2 separate regions of the Homo sapiens genome follow, and region 2 is linked to region 1. Evidence: promoter capture Hi-C in 16 types of primary human blood cells and fetal thymus (Javierre and others, 2016). All regions are on one chromosome and are shown on one strand. Each heading gives the region's core, a stretch centred on a gene start or on the middle of the fragment in contact. The rest is flanking DNA. Distances are from core to core; before and after follow the strand shown.

Region 1 (7,197 bases), core at 3,356-5,855:
CGTGTGACGGGTGATGGGATGTTCCGTGTGACGGGTGAGATGTTCTGTGTCAGCGGGTGACGGGATGTTCCGTGTGATGGGTGAGATGTTCTGTGTCTGCAGGTGATGGGATGTTCCGTGTGATGGGGGAGATGTTCCGTGTCAGCGGGTGACGGGATGTTCCGTGTGACGGGTGAGATGTTCTGTGTCAGCGGGTGACGGGATGTTCCGTGTGACGGGTGAGATGTTCTGTGTCAGCGGGTGACGGGATGTTCTGTGTGATGGGTGAGATGTTCCGTGTCTGCAGGTGATGGGATGTTCCGTGTGACGGGTGAGATGTTCCGTGTCAGCGGGTGACAGGATGTTCCGTGTGATGGGTGAGATGTTCCGTGTGATGGGATGTTCCGTGTGACGGGTGACGGGATGTTCCATGTGACGGGTGAGATGTTCTGTGTCAGCGGGTGACGGGATGTTCCGTGTGATGGGTGAGATGTTCCGTGTCAGCAGGTGACGGGATGTTCCGTGTGATGGGTGAGATGTTCCGTGTGATGGGTGTGGGATGTTCCGTGTGACGGGTGAGATGTTCCGTGTCAGCGGGTGACGGGATGTTCCGTGTGATGGGTGAGATGTTCTGTGTGATGGGTGATGGGATGTTCCGTGTGATGGGTGATGGGATGTTCCATGTGAGCAGATGACGGGATGTTCCATGTGATGGGTGAAGGGATGTTCCATGTGACGGGTGAGATGTGATGGGTGATGGGATGTTCCGTGTGATGGGTGAAGGGATGTTCTGTGTGACGGGTGAGATGTGATGGCTGACGGGATGTTCCGTGTCATGGGTGAGATGTGACAAGTGATGGGATGTTCTGTGTGATGGGATGTTCCGTGTGACGGGTGATCGGATGTTCCGTGTCAGCAGGTGACAGGATGTTCCGTGTGAGGGGTGAAGGGATGTTCTGTGTGACAGGTGAGATGTTCCGTGTGACGGGATGTTCTGTGTGACGGGTGATGGTCAGCTGTGTACAGTCACCTAAACTTGTCATTCTCAACCCTTAAGATTGATGCATTTTATCGTAAAATTTTTTTTTTTTTTTGAGACAAAGACTCACTGTCACCTGGGCTGGTGTGCAGTGGCGCGATCTCGGCTCGCTGAAACCTCTGCCTCCCAGGTTCAAGTGATTCTCCTGCCTCAGCCTCCCCAGTAGCTGGGACTACAGGCACGCACCACCACGCCTGGCTAATTTCTTTTCTATTTTTAGTAGAGATGGGGTTTCATCATGTTGGCCAGGCTGGTCTCGAACTCCTGACCTCGTGATCCCCCCACCTCGGACTTCCAAAGTGCTGCGATTACAGGCGTGAGCCACCGTGCCCGGCCTGTAAATTTTACCTCAATAAAAAAGAAGGACCCGTCCTGGCAAGGTGTGAGGATTCCGTGCAGCACAGGAAGTGCTTAGCGCAGTGTCCAGCAGGGCCCAGCACATCAACAGACACTCTCATCACGACTTGCAGAAGCCACTTTTGGGCTGGCTGTGGAGGCCGTAACCCAGAGAGCATCACCAAGGAAGCAGTGGCCACCGTAGGACCTGCTGCTCACAAGGAGGCTTCTTTTTTTTTTTTTTTTTTTGAGACAGAGTCTCAATCTGTCACTCAGGCTGGAGTGCAGTGGTGAGATCTCCACTCACTGCAACCTCTGCCTCCCGGGTTCAACCGATTCTCCTGCCTCAGCCTCCAGAGTAGCTGGGATTACAGGCACATGCCACCATGCCCGGCTAATTATTGTACTTTTTGTAGAGATGAGGTTTCAGCATGTTGGCCAGGCTGGTCTCGAACTCCTGACCTCAAGTGATCTGCCCGCCTCGGCCTCCCACAGTGCTGGGATCACAGGTGTGAGCCACCACGGCCGGCCACCAGGAGACTTTTAGGTGCTGATATGGAGGGGCTGCTGCACGTCGTGGAAGTGAAAACGCAGGATGCAGAACAGGGAACGTAATTTGTGTATTTTTGAAAAAAGAGGAAAAGTGGGCTGGGCACCGTGGCTCACGCCTGTAATCCCAGCACTTTGGGAGGACAAGGCAGGCGGATCACGAGGTCAGGATTTCAAGAGCAGCCTGACCAACATGGTGAAACCCCGTCTCTACTGAAAATACAAAAATTAGCCGGGCGTGGTGGCGGGTGCCTGTAATCCCAGCTACTCAGGAGGCTGAGGCAGGAGAATCGCTTGAACCCAGGAGGTGGAGGTTGCAGTGAGCCGAGATCACGCCACTGCACTCCAGCCTGGGTGACAGAGCGAGACTACATCTCAAAAAAAAAAAAAAAGAAAAAGAAAAAAAAGAAAAAAGAGGAAAAGTGATAGGCTGGTTTGCTCCTGTGAAAATCTCTCTCTGGACAATGTCCAGGGACCTGGCAGCAGCTGGATGGGGCAGGATGGAGGCGCTCCACAGCCTTTTATACCTTCAGGCTTTAAAACATACGAATGTATTACCCAGTTCAAAATTACATGTATATTTTAATCTAATAATGACTGTTCAGGAGGAGCTGAGGAGGGGGCAGAGCCAGGTTGGCCACCCCAGCAGGGTCCCTGCGGTGCTGGTACATCAGCCTTGAATCGGCTGTGGCCCCCACGCCAACCGTCCTCCTCCCTCCGAGGGGACGGGGCACCCACCTGCCCCAGGGTGCACTCCATGCCCCCCAGGAAATCGTCCTCCTGACAGCTGAAGCCGCTGGGCCCATGCGTGTCGTACACCTCAAAGCGCAGCCTCTGCACCTCCTCGAAGTAGTAGTCCACCGTGAAGACCTTGGAGAACACGGGATGCAGGCTGCTCCGGACCACCTCGGTTCTGCCCACCTGCAAGTGCACCTGTGAGCCGACCCCACTCCAGAGGCTTCCACCCCGGGCTCCAGACCTCCATCTCCCCTCTGCCGCTCACCCACGCCCAGGTACCTCAGGAGGACTCATACCCTGGGAAGACCTCCTGCCTGCTCTCTGTCCATGGGACCACAATCCCGAGGGCCACCCTGGGGGTCACCCCTGGCCACCACTGTCTGCTCCACCCTCAGATCACAGATGGGGAAAGTGAGGCTCACAGAGGACGAGAATGACACGCTGAGTCGGGGGCGAGATCAGATTCACACCCTGGGCTGGGCAGCCCTAAAGTGCAGGCCGCTCCCCAGCACCAGCTGAGTGGGGAGGGGGCGTAGGGTACAGGGGGGCCCTCCCTCCTGGCTGGGGTACCATGGGCTCACCAGCCTCTCCCATCCCATGCAGTTCCCTGGTCCAACTGCCCCGTAAGGACAAGACCCAGCTGGGCCAGTAGGCTACTCATTTCAGAATCCTGAAAAATCCTGCACCTCAAACCAAGGGCAAACATGGGCCACCCGTACAGCTCACGCTCTGAGGGTGCGGGCACGAGGCCTCCGTGGGGATGGTGGGCTCGGGATGTGAAGGGTGGGCTCAGGCTGTGAGGGGCGGGCACGGGGCCTCCGGGGGCAGCCGGAACCCTGGGGACAGGCGGTGAGGGCGGGGCAGGCCCTTCACCCTCAAGGTGGATGACCGGAGACGCCACCGGGTGACCGCGTCCCTTCCACCGCCCGAGCAGCCGCCCGGGCCCGCGCTGGAGCCTGGAGAGACCCCTGCGCCGGGGAAAAGCGCTGGCGCCCCGCGCGGACTGGGGTTCGAGTTCCGGCTCCTCCGCCCGCTGCGGCTTCGCGCCATGCGTTTCTCGCCCTTTCGAGGTGAAGCCACGCGTTTCACGCGAGATGGTGACCGAGGAAGCGCCCGTCTGGCGCCGGCCCCGTGCCCCTTCGGACCCCAACCGCGATCACAGCGGGTTCGCTTGAGACCCACGTTGGAGCGGGAGCCCCGGACGCCTGGAGGTCCGCACCCCAGCGCGCGCTCCCTCGCCGGCCTGCTCCCGCCCAGCCTCCCGCCCCCCGTCGGCCGGCGCCCCTCACCCCTCAATCTCCTTGCGCCTCTTGGTCGAGCCCCCTGCCCGCGCCTCATGCCTGGGCGCTTCACTCTGGCCCGGGGCCCCCTCCCCGAACCCTGGGCCGCACCCCTCACTGCGGGGCACCCCCCTCTCTCCTCCGAACCCCGCTCGCCGCCACCTCCTCCAGCCCAGCCTCTCCCCACAGCTCTGGACACCCCACCCCCAGACCTGGTAACCCCCAACCCTGACCCCGAGCTGAGCCCCAGCTCCGGGGGGCCCCGCCTTGCGCCCCACTGGCCTCAGCGCGCCCGCTCTGGTCTCCGCATCCCCAGCTCGGCGCCAGCCCCGGCCCGGTGGCCTCTCGGCCTCCCACGCCCCGGCCCTACCTGCACCCACTGGCCCTGCGCCTGCTGCAGCAACGCCACGCTGGGGTCGGACTTGGTGAGCGGGTCGCGGTCCAGCAGGTGCCGGCAGCTGAGCCGCAGCTCCACCTTCGAGGCGCAGGGCGCGGGCAAACCCCCGGGGGTTGCCGCCGCCCCGCGCTCCGAGCCCGCGCTCATGCTCCCGGCGTTCGGGGGCCCGGCTGGGCGCACTGAGGGGCCGCTGCCCGCGAGTCGGCGCCGCCGCGGCGCCCGGGAAATGGTGGCCGGCCCAGGCGTGGCCGCGCTTCCCTGAACGCCTGCCGGGCGCGGGCGCACGTGGCTCGGGCGGCCGCCGCGCGGGGACTGCAGGGGGTGGGGCGCGGCCGGGGGGCGGGGCCGGGGAGGGGCGCGGCGGGAAATGAGGGCAGGGGGCAGAGGCAGGGGTGCCCCTCGGAGATGCCCGGGAGGAGACAGCTTCTAATTCCCCGGGGACCCCCCCCCCAACTGATAGCTTTGGGGTCAGGTCGGGCGCGCCCTCCCCGGCTGTGCGCATCCCCGGCCCAGGGACCGGCTCCGGGCTGGAGGCTCCGAGCTGCGCGGGGCCTGAGCCCGGGTTCGGACCCAGGCAGACACTAGGGGAGGCAAAAGGGGGACCCCAGCTTGGCACCAGATCCCCGCGCCCTTCCCGGATCTCTAGGATCCCATTTCCAGGCTCCGCTGGTTTCGGGTACTCGCCACCTCCATCAACAAGCATTTAGTGGGCGCCTGTTGTGTGCAGGCGCCGCGCTCGTCTGGGGCTGGAAGGACCGTCCCGGGGGGCCGAGGGCTGAATCGCGGTCTGATTCCGAGGGGTCCGCGGGGCACGGTCCACACCAGTCCCCCGAGGCCGGGGCGGGGCGGGGCAGGCCTGGGTTCCGTGGGGGGTGGGCCCGCTCCGCCCTGAACTCACTCCCCCACCTTCCCCATCACCGGTCCCGGGGGAGGGAGCAGCGGAAGAGGAGGCGTCGGCGGGGACAGAAACCACCTCGCAGTCCACTCTTTTTGCCGATTTCTGCCTAAAAATAGGGCACGGACCTCGCCAAAAGCCACGGGGGTGGGGGGCGAGGGTGAGGGAGACATTAAGACTGAAGAGGCGGGAAGACCGGGCGCCTCCGCTCAGCCTCGGCGATCAGGACTCTAGAAGAAGACCCTGCGGTCAGAGGGGACCGCCGCCGACAGGGCGAGGAGGCTCAGGGCCCCGCCGGCGGGAGGCAGCACAGGCAGCCTCGGCCTGGGAGGAGGAACGCGGCCAGCGGCGTCCCCTCGCGGTCGGACGGCGGGATGGCGCCGGGCGCGGCTGCAGGGCGGGGAGGCCCCACGGGGCTGGCAGGGCCGGGAGAGGCCATGGAGACCGGCTCCTGCCTTCCCGGGAGGTTGGCTAAAGAGGCGAGGAACAGGTCAGGGCGCAGCGAGGCCTGCAGGGCCCCATCTGCTGTCTCCCCGGCCTCTGCGCCTCCTCCCTGAAGCCCGCAGTGGGCAGAGGCCAGTCCCGCTCTCTAGGGACCAGTCTGGGCCTTCCCGGCCCTGTGTCCTCCTCAGCCCAGCCTTCCAGGCTGCCGGGAGGCCACATCCTCGGTCCCCAACCACTTCCATGGGAAAAGGATGCGAAATTCAGGCAAAGGGTGCGGGCGCCCAGGCAGCTCCTGCAGGCCGTGCCTCCCGCTCGGTTCCAGCAGCCCTGGGACAGTTTTCCCCAGACCAAGCTCCGCTTCCTGCCTTGACCTCACCCGAAAGCTCCTCACCACCGCCCTGAGGTTTGCTCGTCTGCAGTGTGGCGTGAGGCCTGAGGTCCACCAGGCTGTCTGAGGGGTACCCGGCTTAAACCTGGAACACCCCAGTTCAGCCCTTGGCTGTCACATAGCGGCACCCTGGCAAAATAACAGATGGCTTCCAAGCAAAGGACGCAGGGAGCCAAGAAAGATCACAGAGTTTGGGAATTTGAGTCTCTGAAGCCCAGGGCGATTTGGGATCTCCAGCCACAGCCCTCGGCCGGCTTGCTGTCTCCTGACTGACAGCCCTGACTGCAGCCTGCTCTAATGGAGAGAAACCACAGAAGGAAAAGCCGATTCCCCTGTGGCACTGGTGTCTGGACGCTGCCTGCCCCTGCTCAGGGATCAGCCCGCAGTAGGCCCAGGTACAATGGAAGGACCCCGCAGGCCATGTGGAGCCATCTTTCCAAGGCTCCCCCTCCCAGCTTTCCCTGCAGGGCCAGACACAGGAAATGAGATCCACACACATACACGCAGGAATAATAACCGTGTTCCTTGTTGAAATATTAGACAATGCAGATAGGGAGTAAAAACAAATTTCCAGACCCCAAAGCAGCCCATCACCTCCCCACATCTAACCCTCCAGGTTTTTTTTTTTATGTGCAAATTTCTTTTAATTGTCAAAAAAAAAAAAAAGGTGCCTAACTCTCAGAGCCCTTCCCACACTTGAGAGGACTCTTCAGTATCTGCACGCCAGGCTCATCACGCGGGCCAGGCCCGGGACCCCACGCCAGGCTCATCACGCGGCCCAGGCCCGGGACCCTGCCTGGCACGGTTGGAGCACCATAGGTGTTGGTGCAGATGGTTTCTGTTCTGTAACCTGCTTTTTTCTTTCTTATTGACAATATTGCATTCAATGGTTAGCCTGGATCCCCTCATCACTGGGTTACCTATGAGACCCTCTGATTAGTGCCGACCCCCACGGCTATCCAGAGGCTTACACATGATCAATTTTAGGAGCAGCAATGACATATCTGTGCCCAAGTGCCCTGTGTGGCTTCCTGGCATCCAGGACTCAGATACTTTTCAGGCCCAAGTGCCTCTGCCTCAGCCTCTCCCACCACCCGACCCCTACCTACCCTGCAAAGCCCAGCCCAGTCTGAACCGCCACCCAACATCCCT
Region 2 (7,197 bases), core at 4,698-7,197, 710 kb after region 1:
GGGCTTCTGTTTGCCAGTTTTTCCAAATAGATCCTCAAGCTGACACCAAAGCCTGACTCCAGCATCGATCCCCATCCATCCCAGCCATGTGCATGCCGGCCCCTCCGTCCTCGTGCCGGCGCCACCCGGCCCCCAGTGACTGGTTCTTCTCTCTCATCACGTTTTCTTCTGCCCCATCTGTCCAGTATCCCAGAGATCACTTTCCCCACCCCCAGCCCCCGCCCTTCCCCCCCACCCACCCCTCCACCCCCACGCGCCCCACATGCGTGTCCTCTGTGTGTCCTCTGGCCACCCACACAGCCGTCCCTCCATCCCACCCCACCCTCTCCACCCACGGACCCCAGAGTGGCACCAGCTGCCCCCCGTCGTGTGCCAGTGACAAGGGTTGCTCCTGCCATGACCTCAGCTGTTGCCCTAAGGGAACCTGTTGGTGGGCGGCAGCCTCTTCCATACCCAGCGCAGTCCAGGACTGCTCCAGACACCTGCAGGGGCAGATAAAATTCTGCTGCAGGTGCTGTGAGCAGGTGGGACCAGTACCTCGCAACAGCTCTGGCCAGTTGGGGCCACCTGGAGCTCCAGGTGGGTGGCCGGGGCCAGGAGCACACACTGGGTGGCGGCCCACACACCTGCCCAGGGTCCCCGACCAGGGCGCCAGGGTGAGCACATTCCCTGGCAGGGCCGCGACGCTGCAGGGCCGCCCTCTCCCACTCCTTGTTTCCAGGGGTCAATGCCTGGAGGGGGTGTCCCCAGGAGAGGAGGGTGACCCCATGCAGCCTCCCCGAGACCCCAGCACTCTTGGAGCCCCACTCCTCGGGGTGTACTCACAGGTGCCAGGCTCCCATTCCCTTTCCTGGGATCCCAGATGGCTCAGAGTTGAGTCCTTACGGCCTGAGACTGGGGACTTCTGGGAACAGACCTGCCTGGATAAATTCTGCCAGGAGTGATGGGTGCTCCCCAGGGTCCTCTGCAGCCTCCCTGCCCTGCATCCCCGAGCCCCGGGGCCTATTTCCTCCCACACTGCCCTGCAAGCTCCCACACTGAGGGGGTGCTCTCCAAAATGGGGCTGGGGCCCTGGATGATGAGCGTGCTGGCCGGAGAGGAAGACAGTGAGGAGAGGGGGGAGTCCATGGGGCTGGCCTCCCAGAGGCCCGCCAGCTCCCGTGCACACTTCAGAGATAAGGCCAGGGCGCTGCTGACAACCCCTGCTCCATTTTCCCGAAGTTCTAGGAAACTCCATTTTGGACACTTTCTGTTCTTTATGTTTCAATCCAGCCAAGCCCCGGAGTAGCTTCCCAAAGACCCAGAGGAACGGGAACTCAGCGTCAGTACTCAGAGTGAAACCTGCTTTTGAAATACGTCAATGACGGCAACAGGCCTCCCTTGTCCCCACCTGGCTGGGGTGGGGAGCCCCGCCAGGCCAGCTGTCAGCTCCCCAACCCCATCTGCCAGGGCCGAGGGGGTCGGGCCGGTGAGGACCAGGCGGGGGCACAGCCATGTGCAGCCTGGTGGGGAGGGGACTTACTCTCTACTTTCTCCTCCTCTTTTTTTTGACTCTCCCAGAGGAGTTGAGTTGTTTTCTGTAGTTGTGAGAAGCCCATGCCCTGGGTCTGCAGGCTGTGCAGGGCTGCGAGGTGGCCCTCGCCGCTCCGTCTGACGTACTATGGGTTTGGCCTGTAGATGCTGTGAGATGCAATAGTCGGGTTAGCGCCGTGTCCGTGTAATAAAGCGAACGTTCGCTGTCGCCTGGCTGTTCCTCTCCTTGGGTCCCAGGAGGCTTCGGCTGAGCCTCGTCTCACCCGTGAATTCACTAATTACCTGCTGGGGCTCCTCCGTGCCTGGTAGGGCGGGGCCTCCCCATGCACCACGCACACTGCAGGGACAAACAGGCCAGTGTGTGACGTGGGGCTGGGGCGACGGGGAAGAGGCAGGGCGGGAGCACGACGGGGAAGAGGCAGGGCGGGAGCACACAGGCAGGGAGGAGCAGCAGCCCCAGCCACGAGGGTCCCTGCAGGGCTGGCAACGGCTGAGCCTGCAAAGGGGACTTTGGGGGGGTCCCAACAACTTTACACCCGGGAGATGGTCCTGAGGATTCCAAGACTGGAGCCCCTGCCTGAGCAGCCCCACCTCAGACAGTGCTGGGGCTGGGGCCATGACACCTCCGACCCCGATGGGGGACACAGGGGACCTCAGGGGACACAGACAACACTGAGGGGAGGCCAGGCACGGTGGCTCACGCCTGTCATCCCGGCACTTTGGGAGGCCGAGGCGGGTGGATTGCCTGAGGTCAGGAGTTCAAGACCAGCCTGGCCAACATGGTGAAACCCCATCTCTTCTAAAAATACAAAAAATTAGCTGGGTGTGGTGGCGGGTGCCTGTAATCTCAGCTACTTGGGAGGCTGAGGCAGGAGAATCCCTTGAACTCAGGAGGTGGAGGTTGCAGTGAGCCGAGATCGTGCCACTGCACTCCAGTCTGGGCAACAGAGTGAGACTCCATCTCAAAAAAAAAAAAGAAATGAAAACTGAGGGGACACAGGGGACCTGAGGGTGGACAGCACAGGAAGGGACGGCTTGCCCCTCTCAGCCACCCCCATGGGGCCCTGGTGTTGGGTCACACACGGATCCTGTCTGGAATAGGAGTTGTCCTGGGCGCTGGGGCCCCAGGGGCCAGGCTGCCATGAATCCTCAGGCCCGGCTCTGGAACAGGGTGTATTTGAAGAGTGTCACTGGAAAGGCCAGGGTCGGAGCCGTCTGTCCCCTGCCAGGCAGCTGGCAGGAGCCCTGGCCGGGCCTTGTGTGTCAGCAATCTCAGACAGGGTGAGGATGACAAGGTTTTCCATGGCCGGGGCCCGAGCTCAGAGGGGCATGCGTCAGGGCCTGGGCCGAGTCCAGCAGACTCTGGTCTTGGATGGAACTGGTTGCAATCCTGCCTCTGACAGGGAGGTGGAGGCACGGGTGCTGGCAGACCCTCCAACACACAGGCACAGACACACGGGGCAGGGGGCTCCATCCCAACAGGAGGATCCCAGGCTGAGGCCGCACTCCACCCAGCGTACCTGTCCTCGGTGCAGATGTGGGCGCTGCCCCTGAGGAGCTTTGGTTTCTAAGGGGAGAGCTGGCCAAGTCATCAACACTGGACGGACAGCAGGAAAGGCGTGAGGACAGCGGCTCTCGAGGGAGGAGGAGCAGCCCGGCAGCCCTCCCGGAAACAGTGGCACCGTGTTCGCAGGGGGAACAGCGTCCAGGGACCACGCACACGTAAGTGTGTGGCTGTGCGGAGCCAGGGAGAGGGGAAGGGGCGTCCAGGGCCATAGCCAGGTTCCAGACAAGGCCCATTCCTCCCCGACCTCATGAGCCTGCCCCAGAAAATCCTCTGGGTGGTGAACAGATGGGGTGACAGCATGGTCTTCAGTCAGCCTCCTGGAGGTGGGAAAAGAAAACAGAATTTCGGGACCTAAAACGCACTAAGCCAAAGGGAAAAGTCAAGCTGGGAGCCGAATCACACACACCTGCCTCCCATTTTCTTCCTAATTGGACAGCCACGAAGATGAAGAAGCCTGTGCCTCCTCGCATCGCGCTTACAGGGAAATTCCTTGTGGGTCCCAAGATCTTGGCTCTGAAACAGTTCTGCTGGATCCCACCCAGATAGTGTGATCTAGCAGCTTATCTTCCCAGGTATGGGACAAAGGACAGAGCTAACGTTACCCTCCGCTCACCGGAGGCGAATGCGAACCTGCCAGCTTCCTATTCCCTGTGGCAGTTTTATCTTCTGTGGAAACGCAGAGTCGCTGAGCGTGGGGCTACGTAATTCTCTTCTCTACCCCCACCTTCCACATTTCAAAATGTGCATTTGGTGACTGCCAATCAGAGATTCAAAGGAACGCTACCACTTGCCTTTTATCCGCCCTCCCTTTTCTTTCCTTCCTGTGTTCCCCTCCTGCCCGCTCTTTCCCTTTAAGTATAAAAGTCTCCAAACCCTCTTTGGGTTTTTTTGTTTTTGTTTTTTGAGACAGTCTCACTCCGTCGCCCAGGCCGGAGTGCAGTGGCGCGATCTCGGCTCACTGCAACCTCTGCCTCCCGGGTTCAAGTGATTCTCCTGCCTCAGCCTCCCAAGTATCTGGGATTACAGGCGCCCGCCACCATGCCTGGCTAATTGTTTTTGTATTTTTAGTAGAGACAGGGTTTCACCATGTTGGCCAGGCTGGTTTTGAACTCCTGACCTTAAGTGATCCGCTCACCTCGGCCTCCCAGACTGCTGGGATTATAGGCGTGAGCCACCATGCCCGGCCTCCAAACCCTCTTTGGAAAAAGCAGAGCACAGATGTTGCCTGTGGCTTCGTGTTTCTTTTTCCTGGGTGCACCCTTAACCTTGGCAAGATACACCTCTAAACTGATTGATTGAGACCCATCTCAGACACCTTCTGGCTTTTACAGAGGTGAGAACAGACTGGGTGCAGGAGCCTGGGTTCCCAGGCTGTGGCAGCCTCCATGTCCACCTGCTCCCCGAGCCCCCAGCCCAAGATGGAGGAAGGGCCGCCCTGCGTGGGTGGTGCATGGTGCAGCAGTGCAGCTCCAGCCTAGGCCACGCCCTGTCTCTCTCTCCTCCCCCAGTCCCAAATTCCCAGGAATCCCAGCCCCACTGGCTAAACACCGGGGTGCAGTCACAGAGAGGATGGCCTCGGCCTGGGGGTAGGAGCTGTGCAGGGGGCCCCGTCTCCCACCACCAATGGCAGGGGTAAGAGCCATGCATGACCCCCTGGCCCCGAGTCCTTCACAGAGTGGGTGGGAGACGGCAGCACTGGAGATGAAGGCCAGAGCAGACTCCAGCAGCCGCGGTGGCAGGTGCAGAGGGAGGCGCAAGGGCGGACACGGGTCACCTCCTGCTGCAACCCTGCATGGGTGAAGCCAGGTGCAGACACCACCGGATGCCCACTGAATTCCGCCACAGTAACTCACGCCGTCACTCCCCACGGAGACCCCGCCCCACAATAACTCACGCCGTCACTCCCCACGGAGCCCCCGCCCCACAGCAGAATAATTCTGGCCTCATGGAAGTGGCTCCCACCTAAAAGATGACCCAGACCAGGTGCGGTGCTCACGCCTGTAATCCCAGCACTTCGGGAGGCCGAGTCGGGCGGATCACCTGAGGTCAGGAGTTCGAGACCAGCCTGGGCAACATGGTGAAACCCTGTCTCTACTAAAAAGACAAAAAAAATTAGCTGGGCATGGTGGCAGGTGCCTGTAATCCCAGCTACTCAGGAGGCTGAGGCAGGAGAATCACCCGAACCTGGGAGGCAAAGGTTGCCGTGAGCCGAGATCGCGCCACCGCACTCCAGACTTGGCAACAAAGCAAGACTCCTGCCTAAAAAAAAAAGAAAAAAAAAAAAAAGGCCCAGAATAAGGGTTAGGGAGGCAAGGGTCCCTGGGGACTCCATGGGGGTCAGGATGCAGAGACAGCTGTTGCTGCCCCTCCTCTGGGCCCAGGACCCCGCCCCAACCTGCCTCGGCCCTCTCATCCCATGCACCTGCTCTCGGTCTCTGCTCAGGCCCTGCCTCTCCTGGTCGGAAGCCACCTCTCCAGCCTGCTTGGTCCCTGGTACTAGAAGAAACCACTCCCGTGTTCCCACTTAGATCGAGTGTTCATGCAGTGTGGCGTTCGTGCCGTGTGGATGCTGCTGAGGTGTGAACCCTGTCACAGACCAAGGCTCCAGTGAGCCACAGCGTGGCCAGGCGGAAGCAGAAGAGACCGGTGACCCCCACTCAACTCAGCCTCTCCTTCCTCCAGGGAGAGTGTCCTGGAGGTACCTGTCCGAGTGACAGGGAAGGGGCGGGGCCGGGAGCCAAGGCTGGAAGCTCAGCCCCACTCAGCCTTTGCAAATGCTCTAGTGGGAGCAGCTGGCCTCAGGGGAGGGCTTAAAACTCCAGGAGAGCCTGGGCAGGTGCGGACGCGAGGGGAGTGGAGGGGAGGCCTCGCCTGGCCCACCTTCCTCCTGCCCCTCTACCATGTGGCCCTTCCCGAGCCGCTCTCTCTTCCCACCCCCGACTCAGGCCTGGCTCCAGACGGTCTCCTCAGACCCTGAGGCCCAGGGCTGGGGGGCCTGGAACGAGACCAAGGAGATTCTGGGGCCAGAGGGTGGGGAAGGGAAGGAGGAGAAAGAGGAGGAAGAGGATGCAGAGGAAGACCAGGATGGGGATGCAGGCTTTCTGCTGTCTCTGCTGGAGCAAGAGAACCTGGCTGAGTGCCCATTGCCTGACCAGGTAACAGCTGTGTGGAGGCCCTGGGGATCTCAGGGGACCTGGGGCACAGGGGCTGGTGGAGACACGGGGTCTGGGTGACGGATGGCTGCAGCTGACTTAGGAGGGGAGAGGGCCATTGCCCACCTGCCTGGACGAAGGTGGCAAGGAGACCCCCCGCCCCCAGCCACACAGACTGCAGGGTCAAGGTGGCCTCTCTCGCCTGGGGAAGGGCCCTTGAGGTGCGGTTTCGGGGGCTTCTCTGCAGGGGCGAGTTCATCCCCAGCCAGCTGCCCCAGGAAGGAGTGTCCCTGTCCAGAGAAGGGCTGCCCCTTGGGGCTGTGACCCTCTGCTGGAGCTGGCAGGCCACACACCCACCTTCCTTGAGCAGAGCCTGCAGGCTGCCTGCCCGGCTCAGGGCCGTGTGTCGGCAGGAGCTGGAGGCCATCAAGATGAAGGTGTGTGCCATGGAGCAGGCCGAGGGGACGCCACGGCCTCCAGGAGTGCAGCAACAGGCCGAGGAAGAGGAGGGCACCGCGGCCGGGCAGCTGCTGAGCCCTGAGACCGTGGGTAGGAACCAAGGGCACAGGCCGCCCCCCACTGAGCAAGGGTCCCACAGTTTCCATTAAGGTTGGGCCTGGCAGGCTCCAAGGTGTCACCTCCCCTATAAGCCTGGGCGACCTTCCCCGTGAGAGGAGTGAGGAAGGAACCAAGGGCCTGCGGGCCTGAGCTGTGTTCTCCGCAGGCTGCCCCCTCTCTGGGACCCCCGAGGAGAAGGTGGAGGCTGACCACAGATCCGTCTACGTGGGCAACGTGAGTGGTGGGCGGGGTGAAGGGGCAGGCAGCGAATGGGGCCCCATCTCTACCAGAGGGTCTGGCGCCCGGCCATGGGCCAGGCAGCCTTGCTGGGAAGGGGGTCTGACCCTGGGGGCAGCCCCGTCACCTTGAGGAAACACTGGCCTGGGC

Evidence for each region. The method cuts DNA at HindIII sites, captures the fragments that hold promoters and counts their contacts. A CHiCAGO score of 5 or more calls a contact.
Region 2: a contact is called between the fragment with the promoter of PABPN1L here and the fragment with the promoter of CPNE7 in region 1, in 1 of 17 cell types (erythroblasts). The highest score is 5.4, in erythroblasts.

Annotation. Positions count from the first base shown.
Region 1 is chr16:89,573,166-89,580,362 of GRCh38, reverse strand. CPNE7 (copine 7) reads right to left here and starts at 4,605. Exons shown (of 15, transcript NM_153636.3): 1 at 4,292-4,605; 2 at 2,642-2,824. The coding sequence starts at 4,465. RefSeq lists silencers at 5,142-5,211, 5,452-5,681, 6,142-6,399. The HindIII fragment of the contact is 46,566 bases long and covers 1-7,197 here.
Region 2 is chr16:88,865,410-88,872,606 of GRCh38, reverse strand. It overlaps PABPN1L (PABPN1 like, cytoplasmic), which reads left to right and starts at 5,947. Exons shown (of 7, transcript NM_001080487.4): 1 at 5,947-6,255; 2 at 6,666-6,801; 3 at 6,977-7,044. The coding sequence starts at 6,001. RefSeq lists an enhancer at 1,240-1,379. The HindIII fragment of the contact is 14,417 bases long and covers 1-7,197 here.